Regions from separate parts of the Homo sapiens genome. Here region 1 is linked to region 2. Evidence: promoter capture Hi-C in 16 types of primary human blood cells and fetal thymus (Javierre and others, 2016). All regions are on one chromosome and are shown on one strand. The core of a region is centred on a gene start or on the middle of the fragment in contact, and the rest is flanking DNA. Distances in the headings are between cores, read along the strand shown.

What was found. The method cuts DNA at HindIII sites, captures the fragments that hold promoters and counts their contacts. A CHiCAGO score of 5 or more calls a contact.
Region 1: a contact is called between a fragment that was not itself captured here and the fragment with the promoter of NEIL3 in region 2, in 2 of 17 cell types (fetal thymus and monocytes). The highest score is 8.7, in fetal thymus.

The regions. Positions count from the first base shown.
Region 1 is chr4:177,447,508-177,452,907 of GRCh38, forward strand. All of the region lies in intron 1 of AGA-DT (AGA divergent transcript), which reads left to right. Among named protein-coding and RNA genes, the nearest start is that of AGA-DT, 5.2 kb to the left of the region's middle. The HindIII fragment of the contact is 9,950 bases long and covers 1-5,400 here.
Region 2 is chr4:177,307,229-177,313,106 of GRCh38, forward strand. NEIL3 (nei like DNA glycosylase 3) reads left to right here and starts at 2,646. Exons shown (of 10, transcript NM_018248.3): 1 at 2,646-2,881. The coding sequence starts at 2,726. RefSeq lists a silencer at 2,527-2,646 and an enhancer at 2,727-2,816. The HindIII fragment of the contact is 15,817 bases long and covers 1-3,264 here.

The DNA.
Region 1 (5,400 bases), core at 2,458-4,957, 140 kb after region 2:
GTAATACTGGGCCACTGCTGTGATATAGTTTTCATAACAAGGACATAGTAGACTATTAAACATGGTGGATCTTGCTTTTTGTGACAGTTGTTTATAACATTATGATGTCATCATAAATGTGATCCATTACAATAGTAAAGCCTTAGGGCAACAGAGTAGATGTCAGGATGTCTTCCTACCACTTAAAAAATGACTTTGACATTGTTAAGGTAGTGTGACAGATGATTTCAATAAAGAAATTCAACAATAAAAGCAAACTTCTAAACTAACAGTGACTTACAGGAAGTACATTATGCATTTAAAATGATATCTACTTGTCGATCATGACAATGAGTATTAGAAAACTATCCAAATAATGAACACATGTATCCTGTGTGTAGCTACACAAATAGTCTGTTAATTCTCAATCATTCATATAAAAATATGAAAGGAAAGATTTTCACATAACATAGCTTATTTTTTTCATTTTTTAGAAACACTTTTGTGTCCTTCAAATATCTCTGAAATACTCTAGCTCTTGTTGAAAATCACCAGCCTCTTAACATTTTGATATGTATCTGTTTGGTGAAAAATCTTGGTATTATACACACTGTTGTAGAACCTGCTTTTTTATTTAATATCTCTTTGACCTCTGCATATCATTAAAATTTATGCTTTTTAAAAACCTTCATTGTGCAATGTAAATACAGTAAAGGACATAAAATGTAAATAAATAGATTAAATAATTTTGTAGAAAATGAACAGCTATGTAATCACCACTTATATAAACAAACAGAATATTGTCAGTACCCCAGAAAACCGCTAAGGACCTCTATAACATGTTCTCTGAAGATTTAAAAAAATTTTATTTAATTTTTTATTTTTATAGATACGGGGTATAAGTGTAGTTGTGTTATATGTATATATTGAGTAACGGTGACGTCTGGGCTTTTAGTGTACCCATCACCCAAACAGGATACATTGCACCCAAAAGGTAGTATTTCATTCCTCACCCCCTCCTTCCCTCCTACCTTTTGGAGTCTTCTGTTATTCCACTCTAAATGTCTGTGTGTACTCATTGTTTAGCTCCCACTTACGAATGAAAACATCCAGTTTTTTACTTTCTGTTTCTGAGTTATTTCACTAAGGATAATGGCCTTCGGTTCCATTAACATTGCTGCAAACGACATGATTTCATTCATTTTTATGGATGAGTAGTATTCCATGGTGTGTGTGTGTATATATACATATATCACATTTTTAATCCAGTTGTTTGCTGATGGACATTTAGGTTGATTCCATGACTTTGCTATTGTGAATAGTGTTGTGATAAACATTTGAGTGCAGGTGTCTTTTTGATAAAATGCTTTCTTTCCCTTTGGTTAGATACCCAGTAGTGGGATTGCTGGATCGAAGGGTAGATCTATTTTTAGTTCTTTGAGAAATCTCCATGCTGTTTTCCATAGAGATTATACTAATTTACATTCCCACCAACTGTGTATAAGTGTTTCTTTTTCTACACATCCTTGCCAACATCTGCTGTTTCTTGCTTTTTTAGTAATAGCCATTCTGACTGGTATGAGATGGTATCTCATTGTGGTTTTAAATTGCATTTTTCTGATGATTACTGATGCTGAACATTTTTTTCATATGGTTGTTTGCCACTTGTATGTCTTCTTTTGAAAAATATGTGTTCATGTCTTTGCCTACTCTTTAATGGGGTTATTTGTTGTTTTTGTCATTGTATTGTTTGATTTCTTCCTAAATTCTGGATATTAGTCCTTTGCCAGATGCATTGTTTCCAAATATTTTCTCCCATTCTGAAGGTTGTGTGTTTACTCTGTTGATTACTTCTTTTGCTGTGCAGAAGCCTTTAGGTTTAATGAAGTCCCATTAGTCTATTTTTGGTTTTGTCACATTTCCTTTTGAGGACCTAGTGATAAGTTCTTTGCCTAGACCAATGTCCAAAAGAGTTTTTCCTAGATTTTATGATTTTATTCTAGAATTTTTATAGTTTCAGGTCTTACATTTAAGTTGAAGACTTTATTTCTTAAGAACAATTTTTGGTTCACAGCAAAATTGAGCAGAAAGTACAAAATATACCCCTGCCCCCACACATGATAGCCTTCCCACCAGAGTGGCACATTTGTTACACTTGATGAACAAATTCTACACATCATTATCATTCCACATCCATAGTTCATATTTTTTTTTTTTTGAGACGGAATCTTGCTGTGTTGCCCAGGCTGGAGTGCAGTGGCGCCATCTCGGCTCACTGCAAGCTCCGCCTCCTGGGTTCACGCCATCCTCCTGCCTCAGCCGCCCGAGTAGCTGGGACTACAGGCACCCACCACCAGGCCCAGCTAATTTTTTGTATTTTTAGTAGAGACAGGGTTTCACTGCGTTAGCGGTGGTCTTGATCTCGTGACCTCATGGCACATTTGTTACAGTTGATGAACAAATTGTACACATCATTATCATTCCACATCCATAATTCATATTAAGGTTCACACTTGGTATTATACATTCTGTGGGTTTGACAAATGTATACTGGCATATATTCCATTAGAGTATTGCAAGAATCCTCTACTCCATCTATTCATCCCTCCCTCCCCTCTAACTCATGGCAACCAACTGACCTTTTTACTGTCTCCATGGTTTTTGCCTTTTCTGGAAGGTCATTTAGTTGGAATTGTGCAGTATGGAGACTTTTTTAGATTGGCTTCTTTCACTTTGTAATACGCATTTAAGGTTCCTCCATGTCTTTTCATGGCTTGATAGCTCATTTTATTTAAGCGCTGAATAATATTCCATTGTCTGGATGTATCACAGTTTATTCATTCTCCTACTGAAGGACATCTTGGCTGCTTCCAAGTTTTGGGAATTATGAATAAAGCTGCTGTAAACATCCATGTGCACCTGGGTGTGGTGGTGCATGTCTGTAATCCTAGTTACTGGGAAGGCTGAGGCATGAGGATTGCTTGAGGCCAGGAGTTAGAGACCAGCCTGAGCAATGCAGCTAGACTCTGTTTCTAAAAAAAAATTTTTTTAAGTTAACTTTGTGGTGGCAACTGCTGCCTGTAGTCCCAGCTATTAAATGGAAGGCTGAGGCAGGAGGATTGCTCAAGCTCAGTGTTTCAAAACTAGAATGAGCTGTTTGCACCACGGCCCTCCAGCCTGGGGCAACACAGTGAGACCTTGTCTCTGAAAAAAAATTCCATGTGCAGATACAATGTAATTTTAAAGGATGTATAAAATCTATTTATGATGCACAGAAATTACTTAACCATTGATTTCTGTTGCTGTAAAAATTTTTGGCTTTGTATACGAAGAATTTTTTCAGAATTAATCTGTCAGATACTATGTTGAGTTTATATGATAGTCAGTAGCAATTAAAATAGCATCACGCTAGATCATGAGTGAAGGTCAGTATTAGGAATTCAGGACTCTGACAAAGCAGAGTTAGCGCTGTCTGTTACTAACACTAAGGTTTCTCAAGAGGGCAGATTTAGAGATTAAGCAGTTCTCCAAATTCAGGACAAATTCAGGGAGTCAGGTGGTTTGAGAGAATGGTATCATAAGAACTCTGATATGAGGAAGCCCCTCATATCAGAGGGGCTTGAGACAGTGTCTTGCTCTGTTGCCCAGGCTGGAATGCAGTGGTCCAATCTTGGCTCAAGATTGAGAGGATTGGCAGTGCATCCTCTGCCTCTTGGGTTCAAGCAACCCTTCCACCTCACCCTCCTGAGCAGCTGGAATCCCAGGCATGGGCCACCACACCCAGCTAATGTAGCTTCTGTGGAAGAGGCTTTTTGATCCTCCTATCATCTTTATAATTTTCTACTAACCACAGAATTGGGTAGCTGTGAAACCACTAACTTTTAATTGCACCCAGAGCTCTGAGGACACTCAGTAGTTTAGGTTCCCTTATTACTGGATGGCCCTTAGAATAAAGGCACAGCTTAAAAATGTTTTTTTTTAATGCCAGGTCTCGCTGTGTTTCCCAGGCTGGGTGCAGTGGCTATTCAAAGGTACAATGATAGCTCACTGCAGCCTGGAACTCCTGGACTCAAGCGATCCTCCTGCCTCAGCTGCGACTAACAGGTATGTACCACCGCACCCAACTCATAAATCATTAAACCCCTTGAATTTCATAGGTTTAGAGTTATGATCATGGTAACTCTGCAATTTTGTATTAGCTTTAAGTGCTTTCGGTTGCAAATAACAGAAAACTTAATGGTGATTTAAAGCGACAAGGCTTTACTTTTTTGCACCTAATAAGAAAGTTGCTGGCATTGGTTCAGTAGCTCTAAACTGTGAGAACTTACTTGCTGCTTTGTTTTCACAAGACAGCTACTGTTGCTCCAGACATACATCCACATTCAAGCTGGGGAAAAGGACAAGGACCTGGTATCAGCCACATCTTTCCCTTTTCATCCAGAAAGCAAAAGCCTTCTCAGACACTCCCAGTAGAATACTGCTTTATTCTCATCATCAGAACGATGCCACCTGGCCTTTTCAATGAAGTCTCCAGTACTCAACAATATTGCTTTCTTTTTTTCAAAAAATTTTGAAGGATCTGGATTTCGCTTCCGGATCAACATAGTATACAGTGGGGCCGGGAGCAGTGGCTCACGCCTGTAATCCCAGCACTTTGTGAGGCCAGACCAGGCAGATCACTTGAGGCCAGGAGTTCGAGACCAGCATGGCCAACATGGCGAAACCCGTGTCTTCTAAAAATACAAAAAATTAGCTGGGTATGGTGGTGCATGCCAGTAATCACAGCTACTCAGGAGGCTGAAGCAGGAGAATTGCTTCAGCCTCTCCCCTCCCCACCCCTCCTCTCCCCGCCTCTCCTTTCCTCTCCTCTCCTCTCCCTTTTCTTTTCAAAAGTATTTATTGGCTGCCATGTGTCAGAGGTTGCCGTGAGCTCAGATCAGGCCACTGCACTCCAGTGTAGGCAATAGAACGAGACTATGTTTCAAAAAACAAACAAAAAAGCCCCCAAACCCCACATGGTATATAATGGGAATAGCACATGCAGAAACAGAAGCTCAGATACTTAGGTGAGCTTGAAAATTTAAGACCTATGTAAATGTCTAGAAACGTTTTAAAGGACTTTGGACTTCAGAAGAGAATAAATTCAGAGTCTAAACCTATCTTATTTAGATCTCAAGGACCAAAGAAGCCTCATTCAACATCAGAATTATGACTGTGGTGCTCAAGGAGAGATAGAAAGGAAAATGACAGTTCTCCATCTGGGAGAAAAAGATGGTTATTTTTCAGAATAAGAGATTAAAGGAACATGGGGGATTAATGCCTGCTAATCTTGATCTTCTCTAAGAGTAGTAAAAATCACCTGCCAAGATTACAACAGATTTGAAATCGAATTGGTGACTAGAAATTGGTGAAGCATTTTAA
Region 2 (5,878 bases), core at 1,396-3,895:
TATATATATATGGTTATCAAATAGCACAATTTAATAGATTTAGCAAATTTACTGAAATTAGTAAATTGGACTTAAGAAGAAATTGTGAAGGTTCCTCTGGTAAGAGTGCACAAGAGAAAATTCAAGGAGGATAGCAGTTAGCAGGATCCTGACATAGTCCAGCTGAAATGTAGCAAGGGTCTGCACTAGGGTAGGCTTGCTTGCAATGTTGTGGGCTCTTTTTACAGACAATGTAGATACACAGCGTATGCGAGTTTGCTTTTGATTGGACGTAAGAAGCAAGATCAAAGAGATATACCAAAGGACTCAGAGGCTAGTCACATATAAACAAAATCTGGGCCAGGTGCAGTGGCTCATGCCTGTAATCCCAGCACTTTGGGAGGCAAGGCGGGTGGATCCCTTGAAGTCAGGAGTTCAAAACCAGTCTGGCCAACATGGTGAAACCCCGTCTTTACTAAAAATACAAAAATTAGCCAGGCGTGGTGGTAGGTGCCTGTAATCCCAGCTACATCGGAGGCTGAGGCAAGAGAATTGCTTGAACCCAGGAGGTGGAGGTTGCAGTGAGCCAAGGTCAGGCCACTGCACTCCAGCCAACAAAACAAAACAAAATCTGACTCCGCCTTTCAGTCACGCCAGTGAAATCTCTTAATGCCTTCAGTGTCAGTCCCCAACTCTTACTAATTAAAGATCGTATTTGACCCAAATGTGCACAGTACACAACACCTTAAAGAGAAATGAGGTGAATCAGATAAATGAACAGGTTGATATTTTTTAAATTTGTCCACAAGCTCTTTGATATCCCTCCTTTCAAATCACAGCTTAATTCCCCTCCCCTTGTGAATGCACTGTATTTAATGACTGGCTTCTAATGAATGGAATAAGAAGTAAGTTACCATAGTAAACTAAGTAATAAAGGGTGACTAAGTAATAAAGGGCATTGCAGCTTTCTCCTTGACTTCTCTCTTGGATCACACTCTCAGCTGCCATGTCATTAGAAGAGCCGAGCTGCACTATAGAGACACAAGAGGTGAGAAACTGAGGCCTCCTGCCAACAGCCATGCAAGTGACTCATCTCGGAAGTGGATCTTTTAGCTACAAAAAGCCTTTGGGGCACTTTAGCCTTGGCTAATATTTTAACTGTAACCTCTTGAGAAATGCTGAGCCAGGATGACTCTGGCTAGCTAGACTATTGCCAAATTCCTGACCCACAGAAACTTTGAAATAACAAATGGGATAATTGATGAGGTAACAATAAATAACTAGTACAACGCTGAAAGAGGAGAAGGTATATAGGACTTTTCTCCATCAAAGGACAGAGATTATTGAATTGAACAAGGGAGTAAAGTACAAATAGTCCTGAAATTGATCCAGCCAACTTTTGATCACTAATCTCTCCCTGCAAAGGAAAGATTTAATACTTTTCAAAATTTCAATCAAGTCTTCAGTATATTCAAATTCAACTCTCTAGTATACAGATGCTCCTCAACTTACGATGGGGTTATGTCCTGATAAACCCGTTGTAAACTGAAAATACAGTAAGTCGAAAATGCCTTTAATATATCTAACCTACCAAACATCATAGCTTCACGAGGCCCTCCTTAAATGTGTTCAGAACACTTACATTAGCCTACAGTTGGGAAAAATCACCTAACACAAAGCATATTTTATAATAAAGTGTTGAATAATTTATTGACTACTGTACTGAAAATGAAAAACAGAATGGCTATATGAGTACTCAAAGTACAGTTTCTACTGTGTGTCACTTTTGCACCATCATACAGTCAAAACACTGTTACGCTGGGGCATCCTAAGTCAGCAACCACCTGTGTATATGCTCTTGTGGTTTAACGGCAGCACAGTGCTATGCTTATGAAATCACTTAGAAATTGACATTCTGTTTTAATGTGTAGTATTTCAGTTTTCAAAAAAGAATACACTTTATAATTTACAAAACTATATGGAGTCATAAACTTCATAGATTTATATGTATGCATGCATCTTTGGTTAGGGTTGTGGGTAAATTTGAAAAGCTACGCATTACCCTCAAATTTATATAAACCTCTACGTTTAACAAAGCAATTTCATATAGCTTTCATCTTGGGGCGTCCCCTTACAAAATGGATGCATGCACTTAGGTAGGGCTCACTTAACTATCTAATAATGGAGTTTTTAAATATAGACACTAGAATATATTCTGCTGTTTGTTCCAAAAACCCTCTTCTTCGTTTCTCTTATCCCACCCACGTCCGAATATAGCATGCCAAAAACAGAGCCAAAAACAAGATTGTCTGTGACATATCTGTCCTGTCACAGACAAGGACAGATTAAGAGGACCAGATCAGAAAATGTGTGTATACTAAGTAGCTCAAAGACAAGGGCAAAACTTTAACGCAAAGAAAATACATTCAGAGCTTTCCAAGTCCCAATTTCTTCTGCTTTTACAGTTCAGCCTAGTTAGTTGTCCTCCACGCCCCCCGCCCCACGCGCGTTTGCGTTTTCTTAATAAACCCACAGCAAGACCTAGGGCGGGGGTGAACCACAGCGCATGCGCCGTAGGGAGCGACCTCAACAGCTAGGGTGCTGTTTGGGCGGGGCCTGGGCGGGGCCAGACGCGCGCGAGATTTGAATTTCCTCTGCGTGCGGTCAGTGCCCGCGCAGCGTTGAGTTGCACAGCGGTATTCTCACCAGGCCCTGCAATCGGTGGGCCACAGTGCCGGCCACAGAGATGGTGGAAGGACCAGGCTGTACTCTGAATGGAGAGAAGATTCGCGCGCGGGTGCTCCCGGGCCAGGCGGTGACCGGCGTGCGGGGAAGCGCTCTGCGGAGTCTGCAGGGCCGCGCCTTGCGGCTCGCAGCCTCCACGGTTGTGGTCTCCCCGCAGGTGAGCTACTCCTGTAACAGGCCATGCAGTCAGCAGGGGGGAAATGGAATAAAGACCCCATCAGGGTTCCAGGATTTAAAGTGTCATCTCTTTGCTCTGGCCCAGGTTTCCTGGGGTCCCACCTTTCACAGAGTTTATCGTCACTTTACTGTAGGGAGAAGTCGGTCCTAGCGCGCCTGCGCAGGAGAGGAGGGCTAGCGTTCTGGGCTCACGCTGCCGGAGCAAGATGCCCTAGGGGAATCCAGTGAAGGTGTTTTATCCGAGTCACCTTACTTAACTTCTTTATGATACACACATGGTTTCCCATGTCTACAGCTGCATTTTTTACTATTGATATTATCAAATCTCTGCTACCTCTGATATGTTTTCTTCGTCCCATTTTAAGCTTTTAGCATAAAATTCTACTTTCTTGCTTGGCTAATCTGCAATTGGTAAGTATATCACAACTAGTATATAATTCTAAAACTACACGTAGAAAATTTAGCACTAACTTCTCACTCAACTTCATATTGCCATCTAATTAAGGGGCAATGAAACCCAGTTCTGGTTCCCTTAAGTGAATTTATTTCTTTTTAAAGTAAACTAGCACAGCTTCTTGCCACTCAGGCATTCATTGCAGACGATGTGGTATTCATTTGGCCAGAACTTGTACTAAAAATATTCTGATTAAGGCATCATGTTTTAAAAGCCCTCTAGATGTATGGATGATTGTATTTCATGCCTACATGCAATATTGCACTGTATTTCAATTTCTTCTGCAAAGCTTCTTATAGCCTTTGGTCCTGGAAGAAAAAGTTGCCTGCTATGAAATTAGCATATGCTTACAACTTGAAAGAAATGAGGTTCTAAGTCTAAGAAAATATATTTTCAAACTTGGGAAAAAATAAGTTTTACATCTCCTTCCAATTGCCCTTTTGTTTATTTTGACTTGATATGCCAGTAAGTACTCTGTACCTATTTTTTTTTATTATTGTTATAGTGTTTCTAAAATCGTTTCAGGGTACCACAGAGATGGATTTTAGATGGTTTCTTAAGAATATTAATATTTATGAAAATTACTCATTCAATAAAATTTTGAATACTCAAGACACCTGGGGAGCAAAAACAAATACTTCCTCTTTTGGAGCCTATACTTCAGTTGGGAAGACACAAAGACATTCATTAAATAATCACCTAAAGAAATATAAATTAATAAGTTCTGTGAAGGAGAGATACACGATTCTTTAAGGACTTGTAGGAAGACCTGGGAAGGCTTCCCCAGGGAAGTAGCAAAGCTGAGGTGTGGGCCGGGTGCAGTGGCTCATGCCTGTAATCCCAGCACTTTGGGATGCTGAGGTGGGCAGATCGCCTGAGGTTGGGAGTTCAACACCAGCCTGACCAATATGGAGAAATTCCATCCCTACAAAAATAAAAAATTAGTCAGGCATGCTGGTGCATGCCTGTAATCCCAGCTACTCAGGAGGCTGAGGCAGGAGAATCGCTTGAATCCAGGAGGTGGAGGTTGCAGTGAGCTGAGGTCGCGTTATTGCACCCCAGCCTGGGCAACAAGAGCGAAACTCTGTCTCAAAAAAAAAAAAAAAAAAAAAGCTGAGGTGTGCAGGGTGAGTAGAAGCCATGCAGCTCAGGGATTGGAACAGGAAAAAGACTGAAAGAAAGCCAGAGTAGACACTGCCCTCTCATTTAGGAGTCGACTGCAGAAATCCAGGTGACAAATTTGGGGTCAAGTGCTGGTGGTGGAGATGAAGACAAGAGAATCACTATGATGGGAGGGCTAAGCAATGGATATGACATGAATATACTTAGGGATATCATCATTTACATCATTCAACCACAACGTATTTTGTGTTAGGTTTTATGCTAGCTCCTGCGGATACGAAGATGAGTAGGATATGCTTTCTGCTGTGAGAGTCCAACCTAATGTTTTAAATAAATATCACCTCATTGGTATTTAGGAAAAATAGCTTAAACATTTCCTTTTAAGTTTTGTTGTGATTATCTCTGATGGTATGGCATGAGATGCTTTTACATTTCATTCAGTCATGAAAAAGGATAACCCTATGATAAAGGATTAACCTGATTCTACAGATGAGGCATATGAGGCTCAGAGTGACTTTAAGTAAATTTGCCCAAGATCACATGTCTAGTAAGGGGCTAAACCAGGGTTTGATTTTTCTTTAAAACTCCAAAGCCTACCCTCTTAACCATGCCATAGCTCCTCTCAGCCATAAAAGATTCAGTAGGATCTTTATTGCTTTTTTAGCATACAACGGTAAGAACACCATAATGCTCAGTATATAGTAGTGGTTATTTATTAAATAGAAAAGTGCAATCTTGGATTTTTGGCTGTGTCTACCACCATTTTTAGTTTTGTTCGGTTGAGTCAATTCTCTTATATCTATTCTGATAATTCTCTTCTAACAGCTTCTATGGCCATGTTTGGATTGCACAAAAGAGTGCAGCCTGATAATATAATACAAATGCGTCAGTAATGGTTAGGCAATTATTAACATCACTTGGCAGCAATATTCAATAAGTTATACCCCACACATAAAAAGCCTGGCATTTAAAGGTATTATTTTTGATACCTTGATAGAAAGAGGCATTAAAAATTGGAATAGGTCTTTGTGGTTAGTATCAGGAATCTGGTTCTATGGACACTGGATTTTAAAATCAATATGGAAGGAATACATTCTTTGAGGCTGTTGGTAAATTTCTAAATAATTTACTATGGCTTCATTTTCTGGGACTTTGATCTGAAAAAAAAAACATAATTATAACCTTTTGTAAACATGAAGAGTCTTTTGCATTTTAGAGGGATCCATAGTAAATTTCATTAAAACATGGTAGGTTGTCACAAACCTCTGGCAAGATCATTACTGTAGCAGATGATCCCATGTCTCCTAGGCATTTATGCCAAAGAGTTAAAGCTATTTAAATGTTTCTGCTACTGGCTTGAAATGATTAGTTTTCACAAGGCAGCATTTAAAAATAATTTAA